Regions from separate parts of the Homo sapiens genome. Here region 2 is linked to region 1. The links are contacts of gene promoters, found by promoter capture Hi-C in human tissues and cell types (Jung and others, 2019). All regions are on one chromosome and are shown on one strand. The core of a region is centred on a gene start or on the middle of the fragment in contact, and the rest is flanking DNA. Distances in the headings are between cores, read along the strand shown.

Region 1 (7,752 bases), core at 1,966-4,465:
TATAGAGATCATGGTAACCAAATCAGTCCCAGATCCCACATTTCCTGGAGGAAATGTCATGAACTGAGGTGGGAGGACTCCATGATGATACCTTTAATGTGACTCCTGGCTGAGCCCAGGTCAGAATAAGATGAGGCTGACAGCACTGTCATCCATGCATGCCTGTGTCCCCACCAGGGCCACACTCCTCTATGCTCACAGAGTACCCTGAGGGGTCCCTTGTAATTAAACCTGCTGAGCTAGCAGCACTGACATTTGTACTCACTCGGGGACAGGATGGAGGAATACTCAGCACTTGCCCCAGGTGGCCATAGAATGAGAGCTCAAGCCAGATGGGCAGCGCTTGAAGCAGACACCCAGGGACCCACACGCAGAAGGCAGGCTGGGGAATTCTCTGCATACCCCAAACCTCCCATCCCTGAGTCACCCTCAGCCAAGATCTGTCAGCACCCCTTCTCCTATATCCCACAGAGCAGCACGTCCTTCAACCTCCTTTTGTTTTTTGGTTTAAGACGGAGTCTCACTCTGCCCCACCTAGGCTGGAGTGCAGTGGCACAATCTCAGCTCACTGCAACCTCTGCCTCCTGGGTTCAAGCAATTCTGCCTCGGCTTCCCCATAGCTGAGATTACAAGCACCTACCACCACACCCGGCTAAATTTTGTATTTTTAGTACAGACAGGGTTTAACCATGTTGGCCAGGCTGGTCTCGAACTCCTAACCTCAGGTGATCTGCCTGTCTCGGCCTCCCAAAGTGCTGGGAGTATAGGCATGAGCCACCATGCCTGGCCCCTTCAACCTCTTAACATCACCAACAGCACCATCTGGAAGGACAGATCAGGAATACAAGACTTTTGGTCAGGCTGGCATTTGGAAAAGGTCACCAAAGAAAGCCTTGCTCTTCAAAATACTTCATTAGAAGCATGATCTTTGGCATGAGACCAGGGTTCCAAACCTTAGCGTGATTATTTGCTAGCCACACTGCCTTGGGCAAGTTATTTAACCTCTCTGTGTCAGTACCTTCATCTGCAAAATGGAAATGATAATGGTCCTCAGGAAAGAATCTAATAATGCCTGTCAAGAAGTACACACTTGAAAAATATTAGTTCTTCTCCTCACTCTACAACACTTTAAACCCAAACCTCTGTCATCGTCAAGAGATGGAAAGATGAGGAAATCATGAGCAAGAACACACGTCTTTCTAGCCAGTCAGATGCCTGGTTCTATCAGTCCCTGTGTCCTTGGCTGTCAGTCCCCAGAGCTGCTGGAGACAGAGCCCAGAGTGAGCAGGTTTCCCACCACCATCCACCACCCACAACATTTTGCTTCAGCCTCCTCCATTCACCAGTCCCCTTCCCTGTTCTTATCTCCCCCAACACACCACCCCCACCAGCACTGGCCCGGACCTGTTCCCAAAGGACTAGTTTCTGGCCATGTTCCAAGCCCCCTGGAAACACATCCTAGCATCTGGCTCATACTCACAGAGAAAGGGGCAAATGCTATCCAGGAGAATGCATGACCCTCCCAGGAACACTCTGACCCCCCCCAAGGGGATAGCTTCAGAGCTATGTAATTGTCCAACCAACTGCAACCATCCCACCCTGGGCTCCACTCCAGGCACTGCCCATCCCGCAGAACTTGCCGGCCTCCCAACATTTCTGGCACCCCATGCCAGACTGGTATGGCAGGAAACAGGGTAGAGCACTGTTCCAAGCCACAAAATTTCTCTATATGGTCCCCCAACCCACTTTGTCCAGCAACCCATCACTATGAGCCCTGGGAGCACAGACCACCTCCCTCCTCCCCAGAGTCAGGCTCCTAAGCCTTGTGCCTCTACCTTCTCCTCCCCTGAGTGTTGGTCCATTTGCACTCTCACAGATCTGCTGTTCTTCATACCACCGGCTCCCACAGCCACAGCCATGTCCCATTCAGCCTGGCAGGCCCAGGCTCAGTGCCTCCCAGACCTCAAGTCCCTCCCAAACCCTGATCAGGCTGAGACCAGAGTTTGGAACCAGCCAAGGCCAAGGCCCAGCCCTAAGGATGGCTCTGCCCACTGCCTTGCCAAGCCTTCCTGGCCACCTCCTGTCTATCCCATCCCCAGGGCCCATCTGCCCCTGCCCTCCTTGGCAAAAGGAGGCTCCAGGGGATTAAAAACGACTTCAGAAAGTTCATGGTAAGAGGCACTGCCCAGGCGGGGCCCAGCAGTGCCAGCACCACCCACCATACTCGGACATGGGCCTCAATTCTTCAATTCTGGGCCTTTCCAGATGTAGAGGAGCCTACCCAGGGCCTGTATCTGTCGGTCCAGTGCCCGCTGCCGCCTTCTCCCATCCCCAGTCCTCACTCTCCCTAAAGATTACAGAGGGCTCCCACATCACCCTTTACTATGCAACCCCCACCAGGTCCCTCCAGCTCACAGGGGTAATCTGGTAAGGAGAGGATATGGGCAAAGAGGCTCCCACGCCTGATTCCACCTCTAGCCTTTCAGTCGAGCCCCAGAGTCTGCTTTGAATAAAGTCAGCTCCCCTGCCCACCCTGCGGCAGGCCTTGGGGGATGTGGGGAGCCGACCCCACCCCTTTCATTCCCAAGGTTTTGGGTGAGGGGAAGGAGAGGGACTCCCGCAGACAGAGGGCATCCCTCCCTCTGCCCAGGCCGGTTCCTCTCCCCTAAATGGAATCTCCCCCAAACTCGGAGACACCCCACAGCCCCGCAGCAAAAAACTCAGGCCAGCCCCTCCCCCAGTACGTGCCAGATCCTCCTGGCCTCCGGGCCAGCCTGGAACTCGCCCCGTGGAGGGAGGCAGGCGGCGGGCGACGGGGGTGGCGAGCGCCGGACCTAGGAGTCCTCGATCCCACTGCCTCCATGACTTCCCTTTGCCAACCCCAACTCCCTCGGGCAACACTGCCGAGACGACCCGTCCAAGGCTTCGGCGCCCCCACCCACAAACTCTTGTCGAGAGCCGCTCGGGTGCGTTCCAATCCTGGCGCACCGGGAGCCCGAGCGGCCACTTCCCCTAGCCCTCAGCGCGCTCACCTGCCGGCCCGGCTCCGCGCCTGCCCTGGGCCCCCGCCCCGCCGCCCCCGCGGGCTCCGGCCGGCCGGCCGGCCGTCCCGCGGTCCTCCGAGCCCGCGCGTCCTGGCCGTCCCGCCCGCCGTCCGCCGTCCGCCGTCCGCCCGGCCCTCGCCCCCTCCCGAGCTGTCCAGCGCAGCCGCCCTCTACCCCGGATCCAGAAGTCCCCTCCCCGCTGGCTCCCGGACTCCCCGCCTTAAAGGCACAAGCTCCTTTTGTCTGGGCATCCCCCTCCCCCTCCCCAGAAGTGGGGGCCGAGTTGCCCACTCCCCTTCCTAGCAGCGGGGTAGGGGCGGAGGAGGCCAAATAATGGGACCCCTCCCTCCGCGCGCCCCCTCCTCTCCTCCGGCCGCTTCCTCCCCCAGTCCTGGGAAGACAAGCAGCTACTGTTCTGGGATCAAGACCCCGCGGGGAGGGGACCTCGCAGCCCGGTCCCCTTCCCTTCACCCCGGCCGCCTCCTCCGGCATTCCTCTCCCGCCCTCACCCCGGGGGTCCCCGAGCGCGCCCGCAAACCCACCCCTCACGGCTACATCCCCCGCCCCGCCCACCGAGGGTCGCCTTCCTTCCTGTCAGGGTCCCAGGGGTTGGGCCGGCGCCCCGCGCCCACTCTTCATCCCCAATTCCTCCCTGCCCCTGCCCCAGCCCCAGCCCCCACCTAGCCATTCCCGCCCTGCCTGTCACGGCCCTGCGCCCTCCCGCGGGAACTCAGTTTAATAATTAATTAAGCTCTCATTCCACAAGGCGCCAGGTGTGTGCGGCCTGCTTGCCCGCACACCACTTCTTTCCTCTTCCCCCCAGTCTCTGGGGCAGCGGCCCCGAGGCGAACCTCGGGGCCCAGTGGAGGGACCCAGGGAAGGGGCACTCTCCCTGCCGCCCCCACAACCCCCCGCCCTACTCTCTGGGAGCCCCTCCCCCGCACCTGCCAACTTGCAGCCTCACCCCCAGGCATCTTTTACCCAAAGGGCTGTGCTTCTCTGCTGGGGGTTGGAGGGGCTACTGGGGTGCATTGCTAAGTGCACGAACTGAGAAACTGGGTCTTTAGTTATTTCCAGCACGGAGCAGCTGCCCAAGTTACCTGGGAGATGGGAAAATCGTGTGAAAGCTGGTTAACCCTTTGAGGATTAGAGTAATGGTGGAAGCAGAAAGGAGAAGGAGTTTCACTCCAGGATGTACGTAGGTGAGTGTGACTTTAGAGGGGGTGCCATTCTGGAGCTGGGAAGAAGGCAGCCTGCCTGGCTTCCTTTTGAGGCCCCCTCTCCATTCCCTCAGTCAGACCTCTAGCTCCTCCTTCCAATTCAGCCCTTCCCCAAGCAGCCTATTCCCCACCCAAGATCCCAAGACCTAGGTATCTGAAGATGCTTCCTCCTCAGGACCAGCCCTCCCTGCAGTCCTGTCCTTCAAGACTCAAGTCTTGTCCACTCCAAATCACCACTGGGATTCCTAAGTCCAGGACAGAGCTTCAGGCAAGGAAAAGAAGAGTTGGGAAAGCCAGTTTCCAACATTTATCAGCCACGTGTACCTGCAAACTATATACCTTGGGTAAATCATCAATCTCTTGAAATGGGAATAAAACCATCTGCCTTGTCTTTCTTACAGGGTTTTCAGAATCAGATAGAGAAATGTTTGTTATAATGTTTGAAAATGGGAAAGTGGTACTTTCTCATTTCTCAGTTGTGCAGGCCTGGCCTGCAATTTGATCTTTGGGGCCTCTTTGCCTGACTTCTCACTTCAAAATTTCCTTAAAAATTGTTTTTGCTGGCCGGGCGCGGTGGCTCACGCCTGTAATCCCAGCACTTTGGGAGGCCGAGGCGGGTGGATCACAAGGTCAAGAAATCGAGACCATTCTGGCCAACATGGTGAAACCCCGTCTCTATTAAAAATTAGCTGGGCGTGGTGGCGGGCACCTGTAGTCCCAGCTACTCGAGAGGCTGAGGCAGGAGAATCGCTTGAACCCGGGAGGCGGAGGTTGCAGTGAGCCGAGATCACGCCATTGCACTCCAGCCTGGGAGACAGAGCGAGACGCCGTCTCAAAAAAAAAAAATTGTTTTTGCTATCAAAATTTCCTCTTCAAAATACCTGAATCAGGTTATCTACCACTTACGCTTAGAATAATGTGCTCATGAGCCACATGGGGAAAATGCAAAAAACAATTGAGATAAATATGCGTTAAAAAATGAAATTTTAGGCCGGGTGCGGTGGCTCATGCCTGTAATCCCAGCACTTTGGGAGGCTGAGGCGGGCGGATCACAAGGTCAGGAGATCAAGATCATCCTGGCTAACACAGTGAAACCCCATCTCTACTAAAAACACACAAAAAATTAGCTGGGCGTAGTGGGGGGCGCCTGTAGTCCCAGCTACTCGGGAGGCTGAGGCAGGAGAATGGCGTGAACCCGGGAAGCGGAGCTTGCAGTGAGCGGAGATTGCGCCACTGCAGTCCGCAGTCCGGCCTGGGCGACAGAGCGAGACTCCGTCTCAAAAAAAAAAAAAAAAATTAAATTTTAGCTGGGCATGGTGGCTCATTCCTTTAATCCCAGCACTTTGGAAGGCCAAGGCAGGCAGATCACGAGGTCAGGAGTTTGAGACCAGCCTGACCAAAATGGTGAAACCCCGTCTCTACTAAAAATACAAAAATTATTGGGGAGTGGTGGCGCGCGCCTGTAATCCCAGTTACTAGGGAGGCTGAGGCAAGGGAATCGCTTGAACCTGGGAGGCGGAAGTTGCAGTGAGCTGAGATTGCGCCACTGCACTCCAGCCTGGGCAACACAGCAAGACTCTGTCTCAAAAAAAAAAAAAAATTAGCCCAGCGTGATGATACGTGCTTATAGTCCCAGCACCTTCCAGGCTCAAGTGATTCTCCTGTGTCAGCCTCCCGAGTAGCTGGGATTACAGGCGCCCACCACCACACCTGGCTAATTTTCGTATTTGTAGTAGAGAGACGGTTTCTCCATATTGGCCAGGCTGGTCTCAAACTCTTGACCTCAGGTGATCTAACTGCCTCAGCCTCCAAAAGTGCTGGGATTACAGCCGTGAAGCCACCGTGCCTGGCCTTAGAATCTTTTTTTTTTTCTTGAGACCGAGTTTCGTTCTGTTGCCCAGGCTAGAGTGCAGTGGCACGATCTCTGCTCACTGCAGCTTCTGCCACCTGAGTTCAAGTGATTCTCCTGCCTTAGCCTCCCCAGTAGCTGGGATTACAGGTGCATGCCGGACATGAATATTAGAGTCTTAAGTTCCGACAGGGCAGGGCCACCATCAAATCTATTTCTAGCACTACAGAATATTAGGACTTTTTTTTTTTTTTTTGAGACAGGGTCTTGCTCTGTTGCCCAGGCTGGAGTGCAATGGCACGATCTCGGCTCACTGTAACCTCTGCCTCCTGAGTTCAAGCGATTCTACGTCAGCCTCCCAAGTAGCTGAGACTACAGGCGCTTGCCACCATGCCCGGCTAATTTTTGTATTTTTAATAGAGACAGGTTTCACCATGTTGTCCAGGCTGGTCTCAAACTCGAGCTCAAGCAATCCACCCGTTGTGGCCTACCAACGTGTTGGGATTACAGGCATGAGCCACCGCGCATGGCCAATTGGAAGGTTTTAACTCTGACAAAGAGAAGAAAGAGAGAGGCAGTCAGCAGGAACTGTATTTCTCCACGTCTAGCTTGCTTGATCTCAACGACCTTTTTTTTTTTTTTTTAATAATACAGACCATAGTCACAAGAGTGATGTATTTTCAATCTCTCATTTTCAGGAAGAGGAAACTCTTACAAGCAGAATGTATTATATGTAAGTGTAAGCTTCACACAGCCAAAAGTGTATCTGGACAACACTCTATACATAAGCAGTGTTGAAAACACCCTGCAATGTAACTAACGGATAGGCTTGAGTGCCCTGAGCCTTCCTTGGGTTGTTTGGGTTACAGCTAAACTAGCCTCTGCCTACGCCCTTTTACAAAGCAAAGATTCCTTTTACAATGCAAACAACCATTCCCTAGCTTTTCTGTCTTAAAGATCAAAAGTCTGCACAATTTGGCCAGGCGCGGTGGCTCACGCCTGTAATCCCAGCAATTTGGGAGGCCGAGGCGGGAGGATCACCTGAGGTCAGGAGTTCATGACCAGCCTCAACATGGAGAAACCCCGTCTCTACTATAAAAATACAAAATTAGCCGGGCATGGTGGTGCATGCCTGTAATCCCAGCTACTCGGGAGGCTGAGGCAGGAGAATTGCTTGAACCTGGAAGGCGGAGGTTGCGGTGAGCCAAGATCGCGCCATTGCACTCCAGCCTGGGCAACGAGAGCGAAACTCCGTCTCAAAAAAAAAAAAAAAGAAAAAACACCAAAAGTCTGCACATTTTATTTTCTGAAAGTAAGAAAGACATATAAAAACAATTCACAGCTGGGTGCGGTTGCTGGTGCCTGTAATCCCATCACTTTGGGAGGCCAAGGCGGGCAGATCACCTGAGTCAGGAGTTTGAGACCAGCCTGCCCAACAAGGTGAAACCCCGTCTCTCCTAAAACTACAAAAATTAGCCCGGTATAGTGACACGCGCCTGTAGTCCCAGCTACTGGGGAGGCTGACGCAGGAGAATAGCTTGAACTCGGGAGGCAGAGGTTGCAGTGAGCCGAGATTGCACCACTGCACTACAGCCTGGGGAACAGAGTGAGACTCCGTCTCAAAAAACAAAACAAAACA
Region 2 (7,752 bases), core at 2,798-5,297, 150 kb after region 1:
GGATCTTTTACAATAGAAATTACTTTGGTTATAATTTTTTTCCTGCTCAGATGTTACTTCTCAGGTTATAAAAATAATTTTTAATATTAAATATTACACGAATAAACAAGATATATAGCAATACAAGGGAATGAGTGGGAGGTGTTAAATGAGTTGTGCTAACAGAGCTAAAGGAGCCAACGTGGGGAAAAACTATAAAAGTCCTTGTAGTTGCAGAGGGCACAGGCAGCTTTGTGGAGGAGGTGAAACTTGAGCTAGATCTTGGAGTGGGATTTTTAAACAAGTGAGAAAGGAGGTGAAGGCAGAGGGCCAGATGTTTGGGAAAAATGAATGGACTGATTTGGCTAAAGTAAGGGATTTGGCCAGAGACTAGAGAGAGGTGGCTGGAGAGGGAATTAAGGGCTAGTTGTAGGCCGGGTGCAGTGGCTCACGCCTGTAATCCCAGCACTTTGGGAGGCCGAGGCGGGCGGATCACGAGGTCAGGATATCGAGACCCATCCTGGCTAACACGGTGAAACCCCGTCTCTACTAAAATTACAAAAAATTAGCCAGGCGTGGTGGCGGGTACCTGTAGTCCCAGCTACTCGGGAGGCTGAGGCAGGAGAATGGCGTGAACCCAGGAGGCGGAGCTTGCAGTGAGCCGAGATCGCGCCACTGCACTCCAGCCTGGGCGACAGAGCGAGACTCCAGCTTAAAAAAAAAAAAAAAAAAAAAAAAAAAAAAGGCTAGTTGTGAAGAACCTTGAATGTCAGACTAAGGCAGTGGGAACACATTGCAAGTTTCTAAGCAAAAGGATGACACAGCATACTGCACTGATGTATCAGCAGACTCGAACAGTGTGGTGAAGGTGGAAGGCTATTGTCTTATCCAGGTCTGAGGCTCTGTTCAGGAACCTGAAGGGGAAGAGGAGTGGAGTAGGAGAAGGTGGTAGTAGAAATGGAAAGGGCAAAACTATTAAACACAATATCCACCCACAGGCAGCACAAGCCCATCTGCACCCTGGAGGGACCAGAGAAGGAGCTTTTTCCTTGGATCAAGTTAGAAGAAATCCAAACAACAGAGAAAGGTGAGATGATTCTTGGAAAGATAGGAGAGTTGGCCCACCCCTGGCTGGAGATACAACTTAATCACAGAACCATTGCTAGAAAAGCCTCCACACTCAAAGGTGTCTCTGTCAGTGTGTAGGAGAAACCCTACCACAGTACCTGGGCTTCCAAGACTCATGGGGCACCCACCATGCCCAGCTTGATTAAAGACAATGGTGTTTATTAATTCATCCATTTGTTCATCAAGGTTGCATGACTATTATGTGCCAAAGAATAAGCAGAACACTGCTCTTTAAATGTTCTTAAGTGTTTATTTATAACAGGTTGTTAATAAAGTAAAAGCCTGAGTTGGCATATATAAATTTGGGTTTAAAATTTGATTTTGGTTGAGACAGGGTCTTGCTGTGTCACCAGTGCGGTGGCGCAAACACAGCTCACTGCAGCCTCAATCTCTCAGGCTCAAGCAATCCTCCTGCCTCAGCCTCCTGAGTAGCTGGGACCACAGGCACGTGCCACCATGCCCAACTAATTAAAAACATTTTTTTTTGGCCGGGCACAATGGCTCATGCCTGTAAATCCAGCACTTTGGGAGGCTGGGGTGGGAGGACTGCTTGAGCCCAGGAGTTTGAAACCAGCTTGGGCAACATAGTGAAATCCCATCTCTATTTTTTTTAAATAAAAGTAAAAATATATATATATATATAATATAAACATATAATTGTATATATATCATATAAACATATATTTATATATATATATATATATATATATATATATATATTTTTTTTTTTTTTTTTTTTTTTTTTTTTCTTATAGAGATGGGGCCTCACCATGTTGCCCAGGTTGATCTCAAACTCCTGGGCTCAAGCTATCCTCCCACCTAAGCCTCCCAAAGTGTTGAGGTTATAGAATTGAGCCACCATGCCTGGCCTGGTGTTGTATTTTCAAGGGTATACATACCCCCAGCTGACTAGATGTTTTCTTTCAGGTATGTTTATGCATATATTCATCCAAGAATGAAGCACTTACTTACTTCCTCCACTCTTCCCCTATGGCTGTTCTAATCAAAGAGGTATCATCCCATAAATGCAAGATTTGGCAAAGACAAGAACAGATTCCCCATCTCCTATCTATAACCTAAGGCCAAGAGTGCCCTTTATTACTATATTCAGAACTCAGAAAGAATTCCTGTGGGTTAGAGCCCCAAGCTAAGCCCTCCAAGCCTTAAAAGTCCTTCTATTCAATTCTGTGCTGGGAGGACCCTGAACGATATATGGGATGGAGGGGTGAAGGTGGAAGTGGGGGGAAGCAGGTGCCAGGCGGACAAGCCCATTCTCAAACCTGCTGCCTCGCCTGGATTGACTGCCAGACAGCTCTCAATATGCCTGGTTTGTGAGGAAGGGTGAGGGAAGGAAGGGTACATGGGTAGAACTGGTCAGCCCTCTGCATAGATAGCCAGGGTTTTGGATTGAGTATCCTCTCTTCTACACCATGTTCAGCTCAGAAGCCGGAAGTGCTCCTCAACTAGAGGCCAGATACTCTCTTCTGCAACTCACAGCCAACATGACACACACAAACAGACACTCATCTTCAAGCCTTGATGGTGAATGGTCTCAACCCAACTTCCTCACATCTACACCTCCAACCACTGCCTTCGGTGGCTTTGCTCCCTTTACCTGACTAAATGATTCCATTTCCTCTGTCCTAACCCTCTTCCCTTTTCTCAGGAATTCAGAGTCATTCTTACCCATACCAGCAATCAGGGTCAGGAAACCCAATCAGAAAGAAAAACTTGAAGAGGAAGGCGGGCATCCGGATCCTATCACTCCCCAGTGACCAGCAAGACACTCTCTCTCCAGGTACTGGGTTGGAAAGTGAGAGAACTGAATTCTGGCTCTCCTACCTTCACACTCTTCAGAACTGGAAAAGAAGCTTTTCTGCCAGGCACGGTGGCTCATGCCTGTAATCCCAGTGCTTTGGGAGGCCAAGGTGGGCGAATCACTTGAGGTCACAAGTTCAAGACCAGCCTGGCCAACATGGTGAAACCCCATCTCTACTAAAAATAGAAAAATCAGCTGGGCATGGTGGCACATACCTGTAGTCCCAGCTACTCGGAGGCTGAGGCAGGAGAATTGCTTGAACCTGAGAGGCAGAGGTTGCAGTGAGCCGAGATCACGCCATTGCACTCCAGCTTGGGCAAGAGTGAGACTCCGTCTCAAAAAAAAAAAAAAAAATTAGCAGGGAGTTGTGGTGTGCACTCATAATCCCAGCAACTCGGAAAAGGCTGAGGCACAAGAATCGCTTGAACCTGGGAGGCAGAGGTTACAGTGAGCCGAGATCACGCCACTGCATTCCGGCCTGGGTGACAGAGACTGTGTCTCAAAAAAAAAAAAAGCTTTTCTTAATAATATTACTGCTGCCCAAAGACATGACTCCCTACACTAAGCAGCAGCAATGGAAGGGGTGTCCCCCAACTCTCACTACCCAACGTGGTATACTACAGATGTCCCAAAAGGATTCCACAGCATCCTAGAAATGGATCCCCAGCCCCCTCCCTGAGTTCAGTGGTTTGACCTACTTTTAGCAGATGCCTAAAAACATCGAATGTACTAAATACATACTTGTCAACTTCCTGCTGTAACCAACCTAGGCGCTTGAACTGGAAGTGGTGTATGCAGTGAATCCCCAGAGCCTTTAGACCTTATACCTCAAGGCTGAGAAACCCACACATACATTCATTCTCTGCCACTGCCCCTATACTCTGCAATGAAGGGGAGGGTTTTGCCCTCCATCCCACCTTAGCCAACCTAAGCCCTTCCACTGGCTTTCTACAGGCTCATTTGGGAAGCTCCCTTGCCCAGATTATCCTGAAGTGGACCCTGGGTCCAAGTCTTCCGCCAGTCCATGACTGATGCTATGCATGTTCTGGAAGATGGGATTGCTGTTTGTCCTAAGAGCTGGGTGCTAAGTATCTACCTCCCAGGTTCAGTCTCCTCTTCATCCCCTATCCCCTCAAAAGAACTGGAAGGCTTCAGCAACTGCCACAAGAGGGCTCCCCTCTACTTCCTTCCTGGCATTCTAAATTGAGTACTAAGGGACAGATGGGAATAGGTCATCCTCTTCCCCAAGTTGTTCAGGGGTCCAAAGACCCCCCAGTGGCCCACCATTCAGCTAAAGTCCTCTCCCTTATCATTATGAGAGGTTGTAGCTCTGAAAGATATCTATTTGCTAATATAGAAATAAAACACCTGGCCGGGCGTGGTGGCTCACGCCTGTAATCCTAGCACTTTGGGAGGCTGAGGTGGGCAGATCACCTGAGGTCAGGAGTTCAAGACCAGTCTCACTAACATGGAGAAACCCATCTCTACTAAAAATACAAAATTAGCCGGGTGTGGTGGCGCATGCCTGTAATCCCAGCTCCTCAGGAGGCTGAAGCAGGAGAATTGCTTGAACCCGGGAGCCCAGGAGGAGAGGCTGTGGTGAGCCGATATCGTGCCATTGCCCTCCAGCCTGGGCAACAAGACCAAATTCCGTCTCAAAAAAAAAAAAAAAAAAAAAGAAGAAGAAGAAAGAAAACACTTGGGAAAGATACTCTTATCAGCACCCTGTCACCAAGCAGAACTTTGGAGAAGCCTGGAAGGAGGAAAGTGTCATCTGATCTTGAGGAGTAGGTGGGTAATGTTCAAAGTCATTGGGATTGATAAGACATGTCTGGTTGGAGTAGTTTGAGAGTTATATATGGGTGGAAGCACTGGTCCTTGAGGGTGATGGCCTATTAATAATAGAAGTGCTGAAAAGGAAAATTGGCAGGGGAGGCAGCAGGGAAGTAACTGAATATAAATTATATGCTTCACACTGGTACTTGGGGCTCTCAAACTTATTATATGCCTAAATCCTATCCCTTTCCCACAAAAGCAGGCTGGGAAGACCTCTGTCCTCAAAGCTTAAGAAAATATTAAGATTGGGGAAGGCTTGCCTGGCTCACCCAGACCTCACCCACCCTAAAGGTAGCACCATCCCTTTCTTTGCCTGGAGCCAGACACTGGTAGCAGGGGAGGAACAGAATAGTGGTGGGAGTGCGATGGGAGGATGGAGGCTTTATGGAAAAGGTCTATTCCTCAAGACATTTGTGGGATCTCTGGATGAGGCTTGGCATCCTGACAATGAAAAACCACACGCCTGAAGTAGAGCTGATGCAGGGCCATCAGTTGTAAGAAGGATTAAGGTCATTACACTGCCCAGACGTTTATCCTTCATGTTTATTCACTGCCAAAGTCCAGAACTAGACTAGTGAGGGGGTCTCTGTTCAAACTAGAAGCACCTCATGTGCAAGGCTGAGGAGATCTGAGAGTAGAGGCACATGGGGCCCTCCAAGTTCAGGGCCCTTCAGCCAGTGAAGTCCATACAGTCTACCAACAGGTGAGAAATACAGCTGATTTCAGGTTTAAACCCTTTAGAACTAGAGGAGGAAAGTCACGAAGCCCTCACACTCTGATGCCCAATTCATTTGGGCTCCCCCGCCGCGGGGTATGATGGGAAGAAATAACCAGTGTGGAGTGGCACTAAGTTCCTCCATAACCTTACTCTCTATCAATCAAGTGTGCCTTTTACCCCTTTGCTGAAAGAAGGAGCACTATGGAGAGAGGGACCAGAAACAGGACTCCCCTCACCATGAAACTACTGTCCCACGGCTGCTGCACAGCAAAGATGAAGGTCGGCTCCAAAGCTGCATAAAACAAGTTTAATTTCCAACCAGGGTCACAGTCATCGCGTTATCCCACATTTTGAGCAAGGATAGAGAAGGTGAGTTATTAAACATATACAGTCTACATTCCAGAGGAGGAACTGCAGTTACCACTATAACACCACAGACAAACTTTGGGGTGGGGGGAGCGGGAGTCCTCAGGAAGCAGAAAGCTGGAATCAGGGAAAGCATAAAATTAAACCTACCAGAGAGGAGAGGAGAGGGAGTGGGCAGAAATGGAATGAAACACCCAATCCCAAAAGAGCTGTTAAGTGAATGGGAATGTAGAAAGGACCACCCCTGCCAAGGGCTTAGCAGCCAGGGATACTACCAAGATCACTTACTGCCCCCTGCTGGACAGATCTGGGGCAGCACCAAGGCAACCTCCTAACATTTCCAGCCCCAGATTGGTCCCTGGAGCCCCCAAAAAAACAAGGTGAGGGGTGAGGCCTGAAGTGAGGAAAACCTATTTAGGACTGACATCTAACTAGAGAAAGTCAGGGAATGAGGCAGGAGAAGAGGCAAAGTCCTCATGAACCACAAAGATAGAGTGGAAAATCCTAAGTAGGAAAAAATACATGGAAAAGGGCAAATGAGCAACAGCAGTGAATGAGTTGAGATTGAAAAGGAAAGAGTTCAAGGAAGGAGAGGCAATGGGGCAAGACAAAATAAATCTGAGGAAACAGAGCAAATAAAAAGTATGGAGGGAAGCATCTGTGGGGCCAGGGAAATGAATACATTTTTAAATGAAATAGAACCTCCAACACCCCCCCCACAACCACCACACACAAACACACCCACACCCATATACACACACACTCACACACACACACAGGCCTAGAGAGCAAGATACCTGCACACACCTGCTGCATCCTGGGTAACACATCACTAAGTAACTGGCACTGAGGGAGATACCCCTGGAACCTCTCTTTCACAGTTCAATCTTGGATGGGGTTACTAATATTGATCCATCTGCTATCAACAAAAGTGGCCAGGAAACCTGGCCCCATGGAGTGGGGCTTGGGACAGCCCTACTGGGAAGGGGTCCCTCAGCCATGCTGTGGGGGGCCCTGGGCCCTGACCTTAGCAGGTTATGGGCAGCTGTCTCGGAGCTCAGGGCGCAGCCAGCACACACAGGAGCCCACAGGACAGCCACGTCTTCACAGAAACTACAGAAGTCAGGACCCAGGCGAGGACCTCAGGAACAAGTGCCCCCTGCAGACAGAGAGACGCAGTAGCAACAGCTTCTGAACAACTACATAATAATGCGGGGAGAATCCTGAAGACCACTGCATCCCACAAGCACTGACAACCACTTCAGGATTTTATTTCCTCCACTCTAACCCCCAGATCCATTTATGAGAAGTGAGTGAGGATGGCAGGGGCATGGAGGGTGAAGGGACAGCAAGGATGGTCTGAGGGCCTGGAAACAATAGAAAATCTTCGTCCTTTAGCATATCCTGGACTAGAAAACAAGAGTTGGAGAAGAGGGGGGTTGATACTAAGGTCAGCTATGTCACCCCACTTCCCAGCTCCTCATTAGAATACCCAGTCAGCCCTGGTCAGGCCAGTAGGAGTACTAGGGTGAGAAAATTCTGACCAAGGACAGATGACCCATCCAACCCCTAAGATCAGAAGGGTGGTGGGGCACTGGAAGGCAGGAATGGGATTGGCCCATGCCTCACCTTCTCCTAATAACAAAAGAGAATGAAGATGGAAAACCTCAGGCCTTCGCCTCCCTTCCCCCAATGCCCTGGGTCCCTAACACACACCATGGACTTGCCATCCCCACCCCCCAGTCAAGCTCCAGAGGAACAGATCTGAAGATGGTGGGGAAGGATCAGTTGAACACTCTAAGCTGATAAGAGTGAGTGGGTTCCTCTCTCCTTCCCAACAGTAAGGCAGAGCAGAGTGGCATCTCCTTGGGAACAGTCATCTAGAGATAAATGCCATCCTCCAGCC

The links. The method cuts DNA at HindIII sites, captures the fragments that hold promoters and counts their contacts. A contact is called where the count stands out against the background at its distance.
Region 2: a fragment that was not itself captured here is called in contact with the fragment with the promoter of ADCY6 in region 1 in 1 of the 25 tissues and cell types used here (adrenal gland).

The regions. Positions count from the first base shown.
Region 1 is chr12:48,785,874-48,793,625 of GRCh38, forward strand. ADCY6 (adenylate cyclase 6) reads right to left here and starts at 3,216. Exons shown (of 22, transcript NM_015270.5): 1 at 3,033-3,216. ADCY6-DT (ADCY6 divergent transcript) reads left to right here and starts at 3,274. Exons shown (of 3, transcript NR_110019.1): 1 at 3,274-3,354; 2 at 4,112-4,246; 3 at 4,440-4,662. RefSeq lists an enhancer at 1,619-2,163. The HindIII fragment of the contact is 15,533 bases long and covers 1-7,509 here.
Region 2 is chr12:48,930,436-48,938,187 of GRCh38, forward strand. It overlaps ARF3 (ARF GTPase 3), which reads right to left. Exons shown (of 5, transcript NM_001659.3): 5 at 5,288-7,752. It also overlaps a transcript of FKBP11 not described here. Among named protein-coding and RNA genes, the nearest start is that of FKBP11, 8.8 kb to the left of the region's middle. RefSeq lists a silencer at 6,054-6,243. The HindIII fragment of the contact is 5,943 bases long and covers 1,077-7,019 here.